2 separate regions of the Homo sapiens genome follow, and region 2 is linked to region 1. The links are contacts of gene promoters, found by promoter capture Hi-C in blood cells and fetal thymus (Javierre and others, 2016). All regions are on one chromosome and are shown on one strand. The core of a region is centred on a gene start or on the middle of the fragment in contact, and the rest is flanking DNA. Distances in the headings are between cores, read along the strand shown.

Region 1 (7,550 bases), core at 1,286-3,785:
TGCTTGAGAACTAACCTGATATTTGAAACAGAGTGAAAAAGAAAATACCTCCCACAGTATACTTCATAGCTTCTTATTTAGCCCAAGCTGTCAGGGAAATAAAGTCCAGCTATGGCTAAGTTTCACATAATGCACTGCTTTGGAGTTTTTGTCTCATCTGTTAGAGTAAGATAAGTACCACATACTATTATAAGGCTATATAGCATAAAATGATGATGCATTTTCTCCTGTCATTGATAAGAGGATTTTTTTAAAAGTAAATTTCTTGGTTTAGAATTTGAAAGCAGTTTCAAACTTGGATAACACAATTCAGATCTTTTTTTAAAATTATTTTTTATTTATATTAAAAAAAAATTTTTTTTTTGAGATAGGGTCTGGCTCTATCACGCAGACTGGCACACAGTGGCACAATCTTGGCTCATTGCAACCTCTGCCTCCCAGGCTGAAGCCATCCTCCCACCTCAGCCTCCCAAGTAGCTGGGACTACAGGCATGCACCACCATGCCTGGCTAATTTTTGTAGAGAGGGGGTCTCACTTTGTTACCCAGACTGGGAGATTTTTCTGTACTTGGCTGTATGCTTTCCATTGATCTGCTGCTGTTTTCACTATTATTCCTTCTTTTGTGTGGGTATTTTCTTTTGATTTTTAGAATTTTACTTGTAAACATGCTACATATACATATAATTTGGTGCCCTGTTTTTCCATTTACATATTATACTTTCCATATTAGTACATTGTCTGATATTTCTGCATAATACTCAATTCAACTTACCTGCTATTGTTTTTATCATATCTCTATTACAAACATTAGGCCCATTTCCCTTTTTTAAAAGAGGAAAGTTTGAGGTTATGGGCGGTGTTCTGATAAAATAAATAATATTTTGTCATGTTTGTTTTTTCATTGATTAGGAAACATTGTTTTGAATTTAATGCCTCAAATTTGGTGCACAATAATTTGAAGGGAAAAACTGACAAGTTTGAAATGAACATTGATATTACATAATTTACATTAAAATGATACATCTTTTGTAAATTTGTAAGAAGAATAAATAAATGAAAACCTGATTACCTTTCTTATTTGAAGTTTATTTGGGGGGTCAGAATTTGACTTGCTTCTGTATTATTTCACTTTTCAAAAGAATCCGCCAGGAAAGATTAAAATTCATGGTCTTCAAATGAGAAATCAAGTCTTACTTTATTCAAAAGAAAATGTTGGAAGCCCATTTAGAAATGATTTAATATTGAAGTTCCTATAGTGTTAGTTATAAATTCAACCTTGACATTTCTCAAAATTATACAAAGAAGTGGTAGAGTAGAGCTGGGAGTTCATTGGGGCTTGTAGATTTTGCAGGAATTTTTTTTTTTAATGTGTTAAAACAAATTTTATTTACAATAACAGGCAGCAGCGGGATTTGGCCTGGGGATGGAGCAAAGTGACCCCCTGCTGTAGAGCAAGGTGAGTGAGTCACGCCCTTGACAACACATTCTTAGAAGTCATGCTCGTTAGGGGCAAGTTCTGTTTCTTCCACCAACGTCTTCAAGCCTCAGAATCCTTTTCTATCAAACGGGGCTAATAATAGAATACACCATACCTCAGAATTAAGTGAGGCTGTGCAAAAGGTGCTTAATTCTGTGCCTGAAATGTAGCAACAGACAATAAATCCATCTAACAACAAATTCTTATGAAGAAGGTATTACAATAAATTCTTATGAAGAAGTTATTACAATAAATTCAGTGACAAGCAATGATGGCAATGGAAATAAAAATGGAGAAGCAGATGTAATTAAGAGATTTGAGAAGTAAAATTGGCAGTTCCTGGTGACTAAAGCATGTGTTAATGATAGTGATAGTGATATCCTTGGACCATTAGTTGTTCAGCTTTGAATACCCTCCCCAATTTCTCTGCTTATTCTTTTTTTTTTTTTTTTTAGTATTTATTGATCATTCTTGGGTGTTTCTCGGAGAGGGGGATGTGGCAGGGTCATAGGATAATAGTGGAGAGAAGATCAGCAGATAAACACGTGAACAAAGGTCTCTGGTTTTCCTAGGCAGAGGTCCCTGCGGCCTTCCGCAGTGTTTGTGTCCCTGGGTACTTGAGATTAGGGAGTGGTGATGACTTAACGAGCATGCTGCCTTCAAGCATCTGTTTAACAAAGCACATCTTGCAGCGCCCTTAATCCACTTAACCCTGAGTTGACACAGCACATGTTGCAGAGAGAACGGGGTTGGGGGTAAGGTTATAGATTAACAGCATCCCAAGGCGGAAGAATTTTTCTTAGTACAGAACAATATGGAGTCTCCTATTTCTACTTCTTTCTACACAGACACGGTAACAATCTGATCTCTCTCTCTTTTCCCCACATTTCCCCCTTTTCTATTCGACAAAACCGCCATTGTCATCATGGCCCGTTCTCGATGGTCGCTGGATGTTTTATTTTCCAGAGAACCAAACCTTAGCACTGTGCACGCCACACCTGAGGGCGGATTATCCCAGGCCAGCCCAAGTCAGGGCAGGGCTGGAAACTAGGGGCTTGTTGCCCAGCGAACCGCCACAACAGAGAGCGGACTCGATCCTGCGCTCCGGCCGGGCTGACCTGCCTGCGTCCAGCCCCCGCGCCCTGGGCCTGCCTGGGTCTGGATCTGTGTCCGAGTCTGGGTCTGGATCTGGGTCCGAGTCTGGGTCTGGCCCTGCGCTCAGGGCCCGCGGAGGAGACTATGGACCCCGCCGGGCGCGCCCGGGGCCAAGGGGCCACGGCAGGGGGGCTGCTGCTCCGGGCTGCTGCGGCCGCCAAGGGTCTCAGGGAAGACCTGTGGGGCGCGGCCGCCCTGCCTTGGAGGAGCCTGTCCCGGATCCCGAAGCGGGAGGGTCTTGGAGAGGAGGACACAGCAGTTGCCGGACACGAGCTCCGTGAGTCCCGGGACGAGGTCTCAGAAAATCAGGCTGCGGGGCGGGCTGGGTCGAAGGGACTTGAGAAGGTACCCAGAGCAGCACCTCCGGACGCTGCAGGAGGGAAACTGGCGAGGCGACTCAGCCCTGGGACCCCGAGTCCCAGCCTGCACCGCTGCACTCCCTGTTGGCTGGTTTTCAGCTTTGGAATCCACCCCCACCATGTACTGTGGGTGGAAGGACAGTATTATTCTTCCGAATTAAGGAGGAGGCTTTTAAAAATAATGATTAAGTCCTTTTGCAAATAAGAGTTTCATGTGCTCTTATCTCCTATATCGTGACTCATGCTCCGATTTATTGTCTGACTTTAAATAAGTCAGTCACTTAATCTTTCTGCACTTAAGTTTTTAAAGCATGGAGTGGATCATCTATGCCTTGGGAATAATGTGTAGCATAAACTGAGGCAGCTGTTAAGCAGTTCGAAAGCTGAAAGCGATTTAAGTCTGCCCCCGCCCCCCCCCGCCCTCCGCCCCGCCCCCGCCCTCCGCCCCGCGTGTAGGGTCTTGTTGCTCTGTTGCACAGGCTGGAAGGCAGTAGTGCAATCACAGACCTCCTCAGGCTCAGGTGATCCTCCCACCTCAGCCTTCCCAGTACTCAAGCCTCTTAACGGGGCACACCATCCAAGCCTACTGGCTGGGACGGCCTTATTTCCTAAACCAGGCTTGGAAGCTATACACCAATTCATCAATATAGTGTTCATTCAGTCATTCTAGAACTATTTTCAAGGGCTTAACTATTTGCTAGGCATGTTCTAGATGTAGGGTTGGAGAGAACAAGACAACCCCTGTTCTGGTGGAACATTCTGTTGTGGTGGAGGGGTGATAGACAATAAAATAAGTACGCAAATAAATGAATAAGATAATTTAAGGTAAGTGCAGTGAAGGCCATGAGACAGGGTAATGTGGTTGGAGTCAGGCTGCCTGGGACAATTCTATAACTTACAAAGCATGAGCAAGTGGTATAACTTTTGAAGATCTCAGTTTCCTCATCTGTAAAATGGAGGAATCATGCCTACATCAACAGATTATTTGTTTTATATAAACCCTAGGGCATTCTAATAGTTGGAGATCAAGCAAAGGAAAAAGAGCCAGTAGAAAAGACTAGAAAGCGAAAGTTGGTTTACCAGACCTCTAGAGAAGAACATGTTACATGGAGTGTGTGTTCCTCTGTGTCAAAGTTGCCAAGAGCTCAATGCACATGACGGAGGTATGATGACTGGGTTTTGGCAAGGCGGAGTGACCTCAACAAGAGCAGTTTCAGTAGAGGGGTGGGAAAGATGTCTGATTAGCATGGGTTGAGACAAGACTGTGAGATGAAGAAATGGAGACAGCAATTATAGAATACTTAAGTTTGGGGTAATGGAAAGTTGAAAAATGCAGCAGCAGTTGGAAAGGAAGCTGGGGTCAAGGGAGGGTTTTTTATGCATAGGGTATTATGGCATCTCAGTATTTTTTGAGGGGAGTGATCCACTGGAGAGAGATTAAGTGATCTAGAGGAAAGAAGAGATAATTTCCAGGAGATTGACATATGAAACACTTGAAAAGATAAAAGGGGATGGGATCCAGAGCCCAAGTGTAGAGGTTGGCCTTTCCTAGGTACAGGGATGCTTCATCCTGCATATATAAATGAAGGTAGGTTGGTAGACTCACCTAGGTGGGAAGATGTGGGAATTCGTGTCCTATTACTTCTGTTTTCACTATGAGGCAACGGTATTAACTGAGAATTAGGTGATGGTAGTGGGAGGAAGTAAATTACGTAGATTAGTAAATTCAGATATTTGAGGAGAAAGGAAAGGATATGACATGTTGAAGAAGGGAAGACTAGGGAAATGTAGAGGCTAGCTAGTCGTGCTGAGATTAGTGGGGAAGAATTTAAGAGACCTGTTAGCATGTGTATCAGTCAGGACAAAGTAAGCTTTTCCTGCAGCAATAAATGACTCCTACATCTGAGTGACTGGACTTAAAAACGATCTATTTCTGACTGGGTGTGGTGGCTCACACCTATAATCCCAGCATTTTGGGAGGCCAGGTGAGAGGATCACTTGAGACCAGGAATTCAAGACCAGCCTGGACCACGTAACGAGACCCTGTCTTTACATTTAAAAGAAAGATATATTTCTTGTTCGTGTAGCATGTCCAAAATAAGTTGGCGAGGGTCTCTCATCTTCTTAGTCTCTCAGGAACCCAGGTGTCAAGGATCATAAAGGGGTTGAGATTTTACCCTACTTGTAATCTCACAAGTTAGCTTGCTAGGTGATAGAGATGCTGGCAGAAGACACTTCTGGATCAGAGTTGATGAATTTCATTACTCATAGCAGTAGCAGTAGCCAGAGTGTTAGCATTTGTGTCAGTTCTCCAAGCCCCAATTCCCACAGGGAGATATAAAGATGCCAAATGACACCTGCACACACAGTGGGTTGTGTTACAGAAAAATCCTGCGCTTAGGGAACCCAAATCTTTTGTAATAGTCAGTAAGCATGCCTTACCATTGCTTTCTTCCAAGGCTGCAAGCAAACCTGCCCTTTGCTCCAGAGGAAGATATTATCTCTGTCTGTCAAGGCTTTTCACTATACAAACATCCTTGAAAAGGTAGTAAAGAGCAAAGCCAGTCAGTGCTTTTGCTTGTAAGATGTGCAGAAATGTGAGAGACCCAGGGAGAATTGTGTCCCAATACCAAGTTGATGGAGGTACCACCATCTTGTAACCCCTTCATTTAAACACATGGCTTCCAGTGTTGATAAGGCAGGGAAAAGAGACCTAGAGGGTGACACAGGCTTTTCACTGACTCAGCCCCAAAGTGACATGCCATCACTTGTGCTTTCAGTCCATTGGATACACCTCAACTATCCAGGCTGGGTTATGGGCTTACACATGTGACCAGGTAGAAGAGAAGAAGCAGATATTGATGAACACTAGCAATGTCTACTACAGTATGGCTGTGTGTTTTTCTCCAGTACCATTTAGCTGTTCAGGTACAGAAACAAAGCAAGTAGCAGTTGGATTTAATCTCAGAATTAGGATTCTGACCAACTAGTCTAATGGAGGAAAAGAATGGTGAGGGAGGTAAGTGTTTGCATAGAAGTGATTTCATAGGTGGACCATGTGCTATGGTCTGAATGTGCAAAATAAATTTCTGTTTTTTTAAAATTACTTAGTGTCAGGTATTTTGTTATGGCAGCAAAAACAGACTGGCACCATGGAATCTAAACATGGTAAGGAGGGAAGTAAGGACATAGAGATGAAGAATATGAAAAAGGGCTAGAACTGTGGACTGGAGGACTTCATAAGGTTGCAGAATTTCTGGACTTGGAGAACTAGAGCAGCTGAGCTGAATGGATGAGAAGTTGTGGTCAAAGAATAGGATTCTGGAAGTCAAGATTTCAGAGGTAGTGCAGTTTGAGGGATGATTAGTTCAGGAATGTGTCTCTGAAATTTGATGGCTAAGGTCAGATCTGGGGAAGATTATTAGAGGTGACAGAGTCAGGGAACTAAGAGGCCAAGGTGTTGGATTAATCATCTGTGAGGAGGTTGAAGTCACCTAGAATGGTGACAAGAGTAGGGGTAGGAACGAAGAGAAGGATCCAGGTAATAGAAAGAATGAACATGTGAATCTGCATGAGTCTACTCAGGCTGCCACGACAAAGTACAGCAGACTGGATGGCTCAAACCACAGACAATTATTTTCTCACAGTTCTGGAGGCTACAAGTCCAACATCAAGATGTTGGAAAAGTTCAATTCTTCTTAGGCCTCTCTCCTTGGCTTATAGATGGCCACCTTCTCCCTGCCTTCACCTGGTCTTCCCTGTGTGTGTGTGTGTGTGTGTGTGTGTGTGTGTGTCCTAATCTCTCTTCTTATAGGGACACCAATCATTATCAGATTGGAGCCCATTTATATGACCTCATTTTACCTTAATTACCTCTTTAAAGGCCCTATCTCCAAATATAGTCAACATTCTGAGGTACTTGGGGTTAGGACTTCAACATAGGAATTTTGGAGGGACACAATTCAGCCCATAACAATATTTCCCAAGAAGATACTCCTTGGTTGGTCCTTGATTGGACTTGGCAGTATCCTGAAAGGTCTTTGCTTCGGCAAAAACTTGGGGAACATTGAATGTTATGATGGTACCATTTAAAAAACAAGGAAACCCTTAGGAAACTAATCCACAACACATCTACAGAAACCTCTCTTACGGTCCTTTCTGTTTGGAGATGGTATGTTATTGACTCCTACTTAACCTCAATTCTGGTCTTACCCCTTATGTTGGGCTGTCCTCTGAGAGCCCTCTACTCCCCTACATAACAAAAAACTCAATAAACCCTGGAATCTTCTCTGTGATAGTTAATAAAGCCTACCATATGAATGTGTATATGTGTGTGAAATGTGATGTTTATAGTAGATGTCAATCTACTTCTATGTGTTTTTATATAAATGAGAATAAAACATTTTAATCCCCTTTAACTTTGTGTCTGTATGTATGATGGGCTGCATTTTGAAATCTTCATGCAGGCCTGGCCTCGGTATAGAGTTCTGAAGACAACAGTTTTATCTCTGTAAGCTGTAGGAGCATTTGGACTCCTCCCTGCCTAATCTTGTACAAG
Region 2 (7,550 bases), core at 2,880-5,379, 260 kb before region 1:
GAAAATATTGCTCGTGGAATGGCAATTTTAGGTCCTACGTTTACCCTCGATGCTCTTGTTGAATGTCTTGTGATTGGAGTTGGTACCATGTCAGGTTTGTAAGCAATTTTTGCCATATTTTAAAATAGGTATGTCGCTAAAGAGGAAAAAGAACATCTTGGATTTGTATTATTTATTGTTAAATTCTGACTTTTAAATTACTCTTAAAATTTTTTATTATATTAGTGTGTGGGTATATCTGGCCTGTTTGCTTTGGTGGAAACTTAGCAGCAGGTTACTGATTTATTTTTCACTCCTGCCATCCTCTCTTTGTGTTCCACTTTGTGATATTTTTATTCATTTGATTTCTTTTGTTTGTTTTTTTAACCAACATTGCATTCCAAGGTTGGTCTGGAAAACACTTTCCAGCCCCTGCTGTTACTTAGACTCAATTGGTGACTTGGTTCTTTGTGTTTTAATTATCATGTAGGGAGAAAAGAGTCAGGAATTGGACAGATCTGAGTAAGATTCACCTAATAAGGTGATTGGAAATATTTAATCCGATAGTAAGCAGTACATCTCAGCAAGTACCCAGCATTAGCTTCAACACATGTTTCTTCATTCTTAATTGGATAGTAGAGAATTAGATATTAATATCAAACATAGGACTTCATTATGTAGAATAAAAATTACAGACTGGCATGGAAATTTGCCAGAAGGAATATATTACGCTGTGTGAAGGTCTCCTAATCATTAGGATTATATTTTATGGCTTTCTTATAAAGACCATACTTGGTTAACTACTGTGTATTTCCTGGTACCTTAGAGCCCTCAATGAGATGCCTCATTCTTTCAGAAGTAAATTATCTAACTTTTAAGGGGGTAAATTATTGTCATTAGTTTAGGCCTCTTCAGTAGATAGTATATTAAAAATGTAATATTGCTTCTAACTTTCTGAGAGCAAATTATTATTTATTTATTTTATTCAACAAAGATTTTATTTAGCAAATAAAATATTTTTTAATTTTAAAAATTTACTTACTTTAAAATTTACTTTTGGGAGTACAATTTTATGAGTTTTGACAATGACATAGTCTTGTAACCACCACTACACTCAAGAAAAAATGTTGATCAGGTGAAAATGTACTTGTTTGATTTTATTCAAGCAAAAGAATATATGAGAAGGGGATTCGCCAGGAAGTAATAGTTGGGCCATGAAACCATGGGATTATTCATTGAAATAATAATGATGTGGAAAGCAGCTGGGCGATGAGTTTTGTCATGATATGGTCAGAGAAGTAGACAAAGGAAGTGATTAGATTTGTGGTTGGAGAAGACAGTGAGACATTTACAGCTATACAGAAATGGTATAATTAGAGATTTGGGTTACGGTAAAAAAGGACAGATTTAACACATATTAACTTGGAAGTAACCCTTTGAAAAAGCCAGTACAAAAAGAAGAAAGTCTTAGCTTCTTGGATGTCTGTGGATTGGTGCTGTTTCTTTGTGTGTAGAGAGACTTATCTGGGGACACAGTAAGGAAGAATGCCTGGAGAGCATATGGCAACAACATGAGTGAATATTGTGCAGAGAGAAATAGTAGATAGTCAAGTCATGAAAGCATTGGTCAAGTATGGTTTTAATGGCCTCAAGTTTGAAAAGATTATATTCAGCTACTATTTAAAATGTAGTTTGATTTATAATGCTTTTGTTATTGTGATTTTGTAGTCTCTTGAATTTCCACATTTGAGGGTAATCGTGGAATTAAAAAAATACAATATATGCTTGTTCTAGTCAGTCAAATGATATCTTAAAATTTAGGTAATAAAATACAACTTTGAGTTTTTGTGAGCAGTTTTTATAGGACAATTTAAATTTATGTTTCAAAGCATTGGGAATTAAAAAAATACAATATATGCTTGTTCTAGTCAGTCAAATTATATCTTAAAATGTAGGTAATAAAATAAAACTTTGAGTTTTTGTGAGCAGTTTTTATAGGACAATTCAAATTTGTGTTTCAAAGCATTGTTATGTTTGAGCGACATCAGAAATATGTTTTATATTATACTCAAGTTTATTTGTAAAGTGAGGGAGAAGGATTTGGTGGTCATCTAAGGTCTCTTCTAGCCTCTATAATTCTGTTTTCTATTTGAGATCACCAAATGATACCTTAAACAGTTGTAGTACAATATGTTTGTTAATTTTTAGTCTTAAGTTGGCATTTTGTATTATATCATTTTCCAAACAGATCAATGAAATAACCAAAATTATAAGAACTTCAGTAGGCATCATAGAGGTTATATTGAAATTAGAGTTTGTTGGTACACAAAAAATATTATTTTGACCTTATATCAGGACTGGCATAACTGGCAGGATATTCTACTTATATAAAAAATCCTTGGTTAATTGGCAAATTGCTTTTCTCCTAACAAGTGGGATTAGATCAATAGTGTCACTGGGGTTTTGCTCTGTTAGAGTAGCCTGTCCTCTCCTTATTTAATAATAAGGCACTACTGCTTGACAAAAAGGAATTGGAAACACATATGTTTTATCAATTGTGTATTAAACACTACCATTCTGCCTGGCATTGTGATATGGGGACATGAGAGAAGGCAAGAGCTTTGCTCTTGAGGGACTTAGAGTTCTGTTGTTATTCCTGCTGTTTCCTAAGGCTTGGCATCACCTCTAAGTTGCTAATTCTATTTCCAGTAAGTGGCAAGGAGCTTAATGTACTAATATTTTCATGTTTTGTCCACCTGCAGGAAGACAAATATATCCTTGTGATATATGCAGCATAAAAAATAACGTAGACTTTACTAGTTGTATCTTTAATTTTTCTCTAACCAGGGGTACGTCAGCTTGAAATTATGTGCTGCTTTGGCTGCATGTCAGTTCTTGCCAACTACTTCGTGTTCATGACTTTCTTCCCAGCTTGTGTGTCCTTGGTATTAGAGGTAAGACCAATTCTTACATATGGCACTAGTAGAAGAGTAAGATTTCTGCTTACACAGTTTACCTAAACAGAATCAATACCTTCTAATGTCACACTGACTTAATTTGTAGCTTTCTCGGGAAAGCCGCGAGGGTCGTCCAATTTGGCAGCTCAGCCATTTTGCCCGAGTTTTAGAAGAAGAAGAAAATAAGCCGAATCCTGTAACTCAGAGGGTCAAGATGATTATGGTAATGACATGGTTTTCTTCTTCTTTTAGTATCCTCAGTTCCAATCTCATTATTTTTAAGATTTCTTTTTTTCTACAATTTTGGCCCATTCAATGATATTGCACCCCCTTCTTCCTTTTTTTCTTAATGTGTTCATTTCTTTGAGGCTCCTGGTCTTTATTAGCCCCTCTCTCCTAAACAGACTTTTTAAGTTCCCCCACCTTATCTCTCGTTGAAAGCCTGTTCTTTGGGGTGTTTTCAGTAGTTCAGTGGGGTCACTACTTTAGTTAGTTGCATAGCAAGCTTGGGGCTTTTTTTTTTTCATGGTAAGGGGAAGCTATGAGAGATAATGTCTGGCTGTCCAGTTGCTAGGGATAAGAAATTTAAGTTCTATTGATATGCAGAGGATACATTACTTTAAAAATTTTATTTCAGTCTCTAGGCTTGGTTCTTGTTCATGCTCACAGTCGCTGGATAGCTGATCCTTCTCCTCAAAACAGTACAGCAGATACTTCTAAGGTTTCATTAGGACTGGATGAAAATGTGTCCAAGAGAATTGAACCAAGTGTTTCCCTCTGGCAGTTTTATCTCTCTAAGTAAGTTAATTGAAATCTACTTTGTGATATATTAATCATAACACTCTATGCTAATGTAAGTTTAGATTGTGTCCTTTACATTTCTGAATAAGATTTTAATTTGCTTTCTTTTATTTAGAATGATCAGCATGGATATTGAACAAGTTATTACCCTAAGTTTAGCTCTCCTTCTGGCTGTCAAGTACATCTTCTTTGAACAAACAGAGACAGAATCTACACTCTCATTAAAAAACCCTATCACATCTCCTGTAGTGACACAAAAGAAAGTCCCAGACAATTGTTGTAGACGTGAACCTATGCTGGTCAGAAATAACCAGAAATGTGATTCAGTAGAGGAAGAGACAGGGATAAACCGAGAAAGAAAAGGTAACTTGTTATTCTCTTCGCTTTCAATCCTTCATTGCTTTGTCAAAAAGTAGTCTGTTTTCAAAATTATGTGCCGTGTTGTGAGATTTCTTTTGATTTCTTGAACAGTTGAGGTTATAAAACCCTTAGTGGCTGAAACAGATACCCCAAACAGAGCTACATTTGTGGTTGGTAACTCCTCCTTACTCGATACTTCATCAGTACTGGTGACACAGGAACCTGAAATTGAACTTCCCAGGGAACCTCGGCCTAATGAAGAATGTCTACAGATACTTGGGAATGCAGAGGTGAGGATGATAACATAAACTCCAATGTGGCATTTTTCATTACAAAGGAGCTTTTTCAAGGAAGAAAAATCTAGTATCTGCTGAACACTACAGCTAAGTTCTGGGCACGGTGTAACATGACTAACAGATACTATCTTCTTTCTTTATTTCACACAACCTTGAGAGGTAGGTACAATTATCTATTTTTCAGATGAGAACATTGAGGCTCCAATATGTTTAATTTCCCAAAGTAGTACCTCTAGGAAATGATAAAGCTGATAGCAGGGTCCAAGATTTTCTGACTCCAGAGTCAAAACTCTTTCTAGTTTATTACTGTTTATCATAGAGATGAGTGACTACTGTATTCTCATAGGTGTGTTGAGGCCTAGAAAGAGTTTAACACAGAGACAAGTTTCAAAGATAGAAGAAAGTTTGTTTTTGTTTTGTTTTGTAAGCTTGATACCCATGAGGAAGTTTGCTTTTCTTTCTGACATTTGAACAGGACCTTCTGCCTACATGACCATATGAATCTACTCATGCTTTCATGCAAATAATCATGTTCCATCCATGTCTGCTTAATATGGTTCTTTCTTTTAAATATATGTTAATACGTTTATTGGTAAAATGCAATTTTTTGCCAGCTTTATTGAGGTATACTTGACAAAATTTTATTTTATTATTATTATTATTATTATTATTATTATTGTTTTGGAGACAGAGTGTCACTCTGTCACCCAGGCTGGAGTACAGTGGCACCATCTTGGCTCACAGCAACCTCCACCTCCCAGGTTCAAGCGATTCTTGTGTATCAGCCTCCCGAGTAGCTGGGATTACAGGCATGCGCCACCATGTCTGGCTAATTTTTGTGTTTTTAGCAGAGATGGGATTTCACTATGTTGGCCAGGCTGGTCTCAAACTCCTGGCCTCAAGTGGTCTGCCTGCCTTGGCCTCCCAAAGTGCTGGGATTACAGGTATGAGCCACTGCATGCCCGGCCTGCATTCTTCAATCATATGCTTTTTAGCTAAACTTAGTCATTGTTCTTTAAATACAGTTCCCAACTCTGGGTTCCTATTCTTGTCATCTGACATGTCTCCCCCTCTCCAGGTGTTCACACCTTTAGGGCAAATGCTAGCATCTCTATGAAACCTACCTCAATTCCGCCAAACAGAAGTAACCTTTCTTTTCTGAAGCATCCATTATATAGAGACTGTGCATTTTTAATGGCAGTCGTACCTTGTTGCTTATATCACATTTACATGAATATCTCCATTATTAGACATCGGGCTCTTAGATGGCTAAGTCCATGTCTTGAGAGGGCCTTGGATTTCATAGGTGCTCAGTAAACTTACTAAGAGAATGAATGAATTTGCATTGATAATACATAAACCAGCTAATGTTTATCTTACTATTCTTTTGAAAAATTAGGCTAATATTAGTGTTTGCAAAGAAGATCCTTGAATAAACCCACAAAATGGAATTACTGGTACCAGTTTTGTGGAGGGTGGTGATTGTGAGTGTGTGTGTGTGTATGTGTATGTATGTATATCACCACCACAAGCAGAGTCAAGAGACAGCTAATAAACCAAGAGAAAATATTGGCAATTTATATTTAAGGCTAAAGGGCTAATCTCTAATATATAAAGAGCTCCTACAAATTGATGAGACTAAATTTTTATCTAATTTTTAAAAAGAGCAGATAATCAGTCTATTGTCAGGAAAAAAGTACATATGGCTCTTAAAAATGTGAAAAGGTGATTAACTTCATCCTAAGAGAAATGCAAATTAAAATTGTACTTGAGATATTTTCACTCATCAGATTGGCAATAATCCCAAAGTTTAATAACATACTCTATTGAGGTTGTAGGGAAAGGTCTTTTCTTGTTTTTTTGGGTTTTTTTTTGGTTTGGTTTTTTTTTTTTTGAGAAGGAGTTTTGCTATTGTTGCCCAGGCTGGAGTGCAATGGCATGATCTTGGCTCACCGCAACCTCTGCCTCCTGGGTTCAATTGATTCTCCTGCCTCAGCCTCCCAAGTAGCTGGGATTACAGGCATGCGCCACCATTCCTGGCTAATTTTGTATTTTTAGTAGAGACGGGGTTTCTCCATGTTTGTCAGGCTGGTCTCAAACTCCGGACCTCAGGTGATCCGCCCGCCTTGGCCTCCCAAAGTGCTGGGATTATAGGCGTGAGCCACTGCCCCCAGGCTGGAAAGGTCTTTTCTTACATTGGTGGTGAGAAGGCAATTGGACCGTGTTTATTCAAATTAATAAATTTGTAAAAATTATAAAAATTTATAAGATTGTAAATGTTCATACCCTTTGGCCCAACACTTGTGTGAATATATACCCATATGTGTGCGTGTATATATATATATATGCATATTTATAATCATGCCTAAAAACATCTCTGGATGGATACACAGTGAAACAGTGGTACCTATTTATGTGTAGGTAGCAAAGAACTGGGCAGATGGTAGACAGGGATGGGATGAAGACTTTTTGTTATATCTCTTTTAATATTTAGTTTTTAAACCATGTGAATATATTGCCTGTTCAGGATATCAAAAATAGCAAGTTTACTAGAGTTTAAACAATAGCTGTTATATCTGACACACACTTGAAACCTTGCTAAATTCACATTTATTTTTCTTTTTATGGTGTATTAGTGCAAGCCTGTCTTTGTATTGTAAAATCTAATGATACGGTATTTATATTATTTTTGTTTGGCATTTTTTGCATTAAATGAATTATTTTGCAGAGGTATCTTTTAATTAAAAACTACAGTGATTTAATTTAAAAATTACATTATTTTAGCTTAGCATTGTTTGTATTAAATGGTTTATAACATGAAATACAGTCCTTCAAGTCTTCTGTTTCATCTCTCTCTCTGACCACAATTTCATTTTTTTTCTCCATTTCTTTAGAAAGGTGCAAAATTCCTTAGTGATGCTGAGATCATCCAGTTAGTCAATGCTAAGCATATCCCAGCCTACAAGTTGGAAACTCTGATGGAAACTCATGAGCGTGGTGTATCTATTCGCCGACAGTTACTTTCCAAGAAGCTTTCAGAACCTTCTTCTCTCCAGTACCTACCTTACAGGGATTATAATTACTCCTTGGTATGTTATTTTCTCGATTAAGAGAGATTTGCTTTGTATGTTTTTAATCTTTTTTCTTGATTAGTTTC

Evidence for each region. The method cuts DNA at HindIII sites, captures the fragments that hold promoters and counts their contacts. A CHiCAGO score of 5 or more calls a contact.
Region 2: a contact is called between a fragment that was not itself captured here and the fragment with the promoter of ANKDD1B in region 1, in 1 of 17 cell types (endothelial precursors). The highest score is 5.1, in endothelial precursors.

What each region holds. Positions count from the first base shown.
Region 1 is chr5:75,608,918-75,616,467 of GRCh38, forward strand. It overlaps ANKDD1B (ankyrin repeat and death domain containing 1B), which reads left to right and starts at 2,536. Exons shown (of 14, transcript NM_001276713.2): 1 at 2,536-2,910. The coding sequence starts at 2,718. It overlaps POLK (DNA polymerase kappa), which reads left to right. Exons shown (of 15, transcript NM_016218.6): 15 at 1-1,074. RefSeq lists enhancers at 1,222-2,029, 2,030-2,836, 2,837-3,643. The HindIII fragment of the contact is 4,897 bases long and covers 1-4,861 here.
Region 2 is chr5:75,347,216-75,354,765 of GRCh38, forward strand. HMGCR (3-hydroxy-3-methylglutaryl-CoA reductase) reads left to right here. Exons shown (of 20, transcript NM_000859.3): 6 at 1-94; 7 at 2,827-2,933; 8 at 3,043-3,159; 9 at 3,574-3,734; 10 at 3,853-4,100; 11 at 4,209-4,387; 12 at 7,288-7,482. Among named protein-coding and RNA genes, the nearest start is that of HMGCR, 14 kb to the left of the region's middle. The HindIII fragment of the contact is 1,380 bases long and covers 3,440-4,819 here.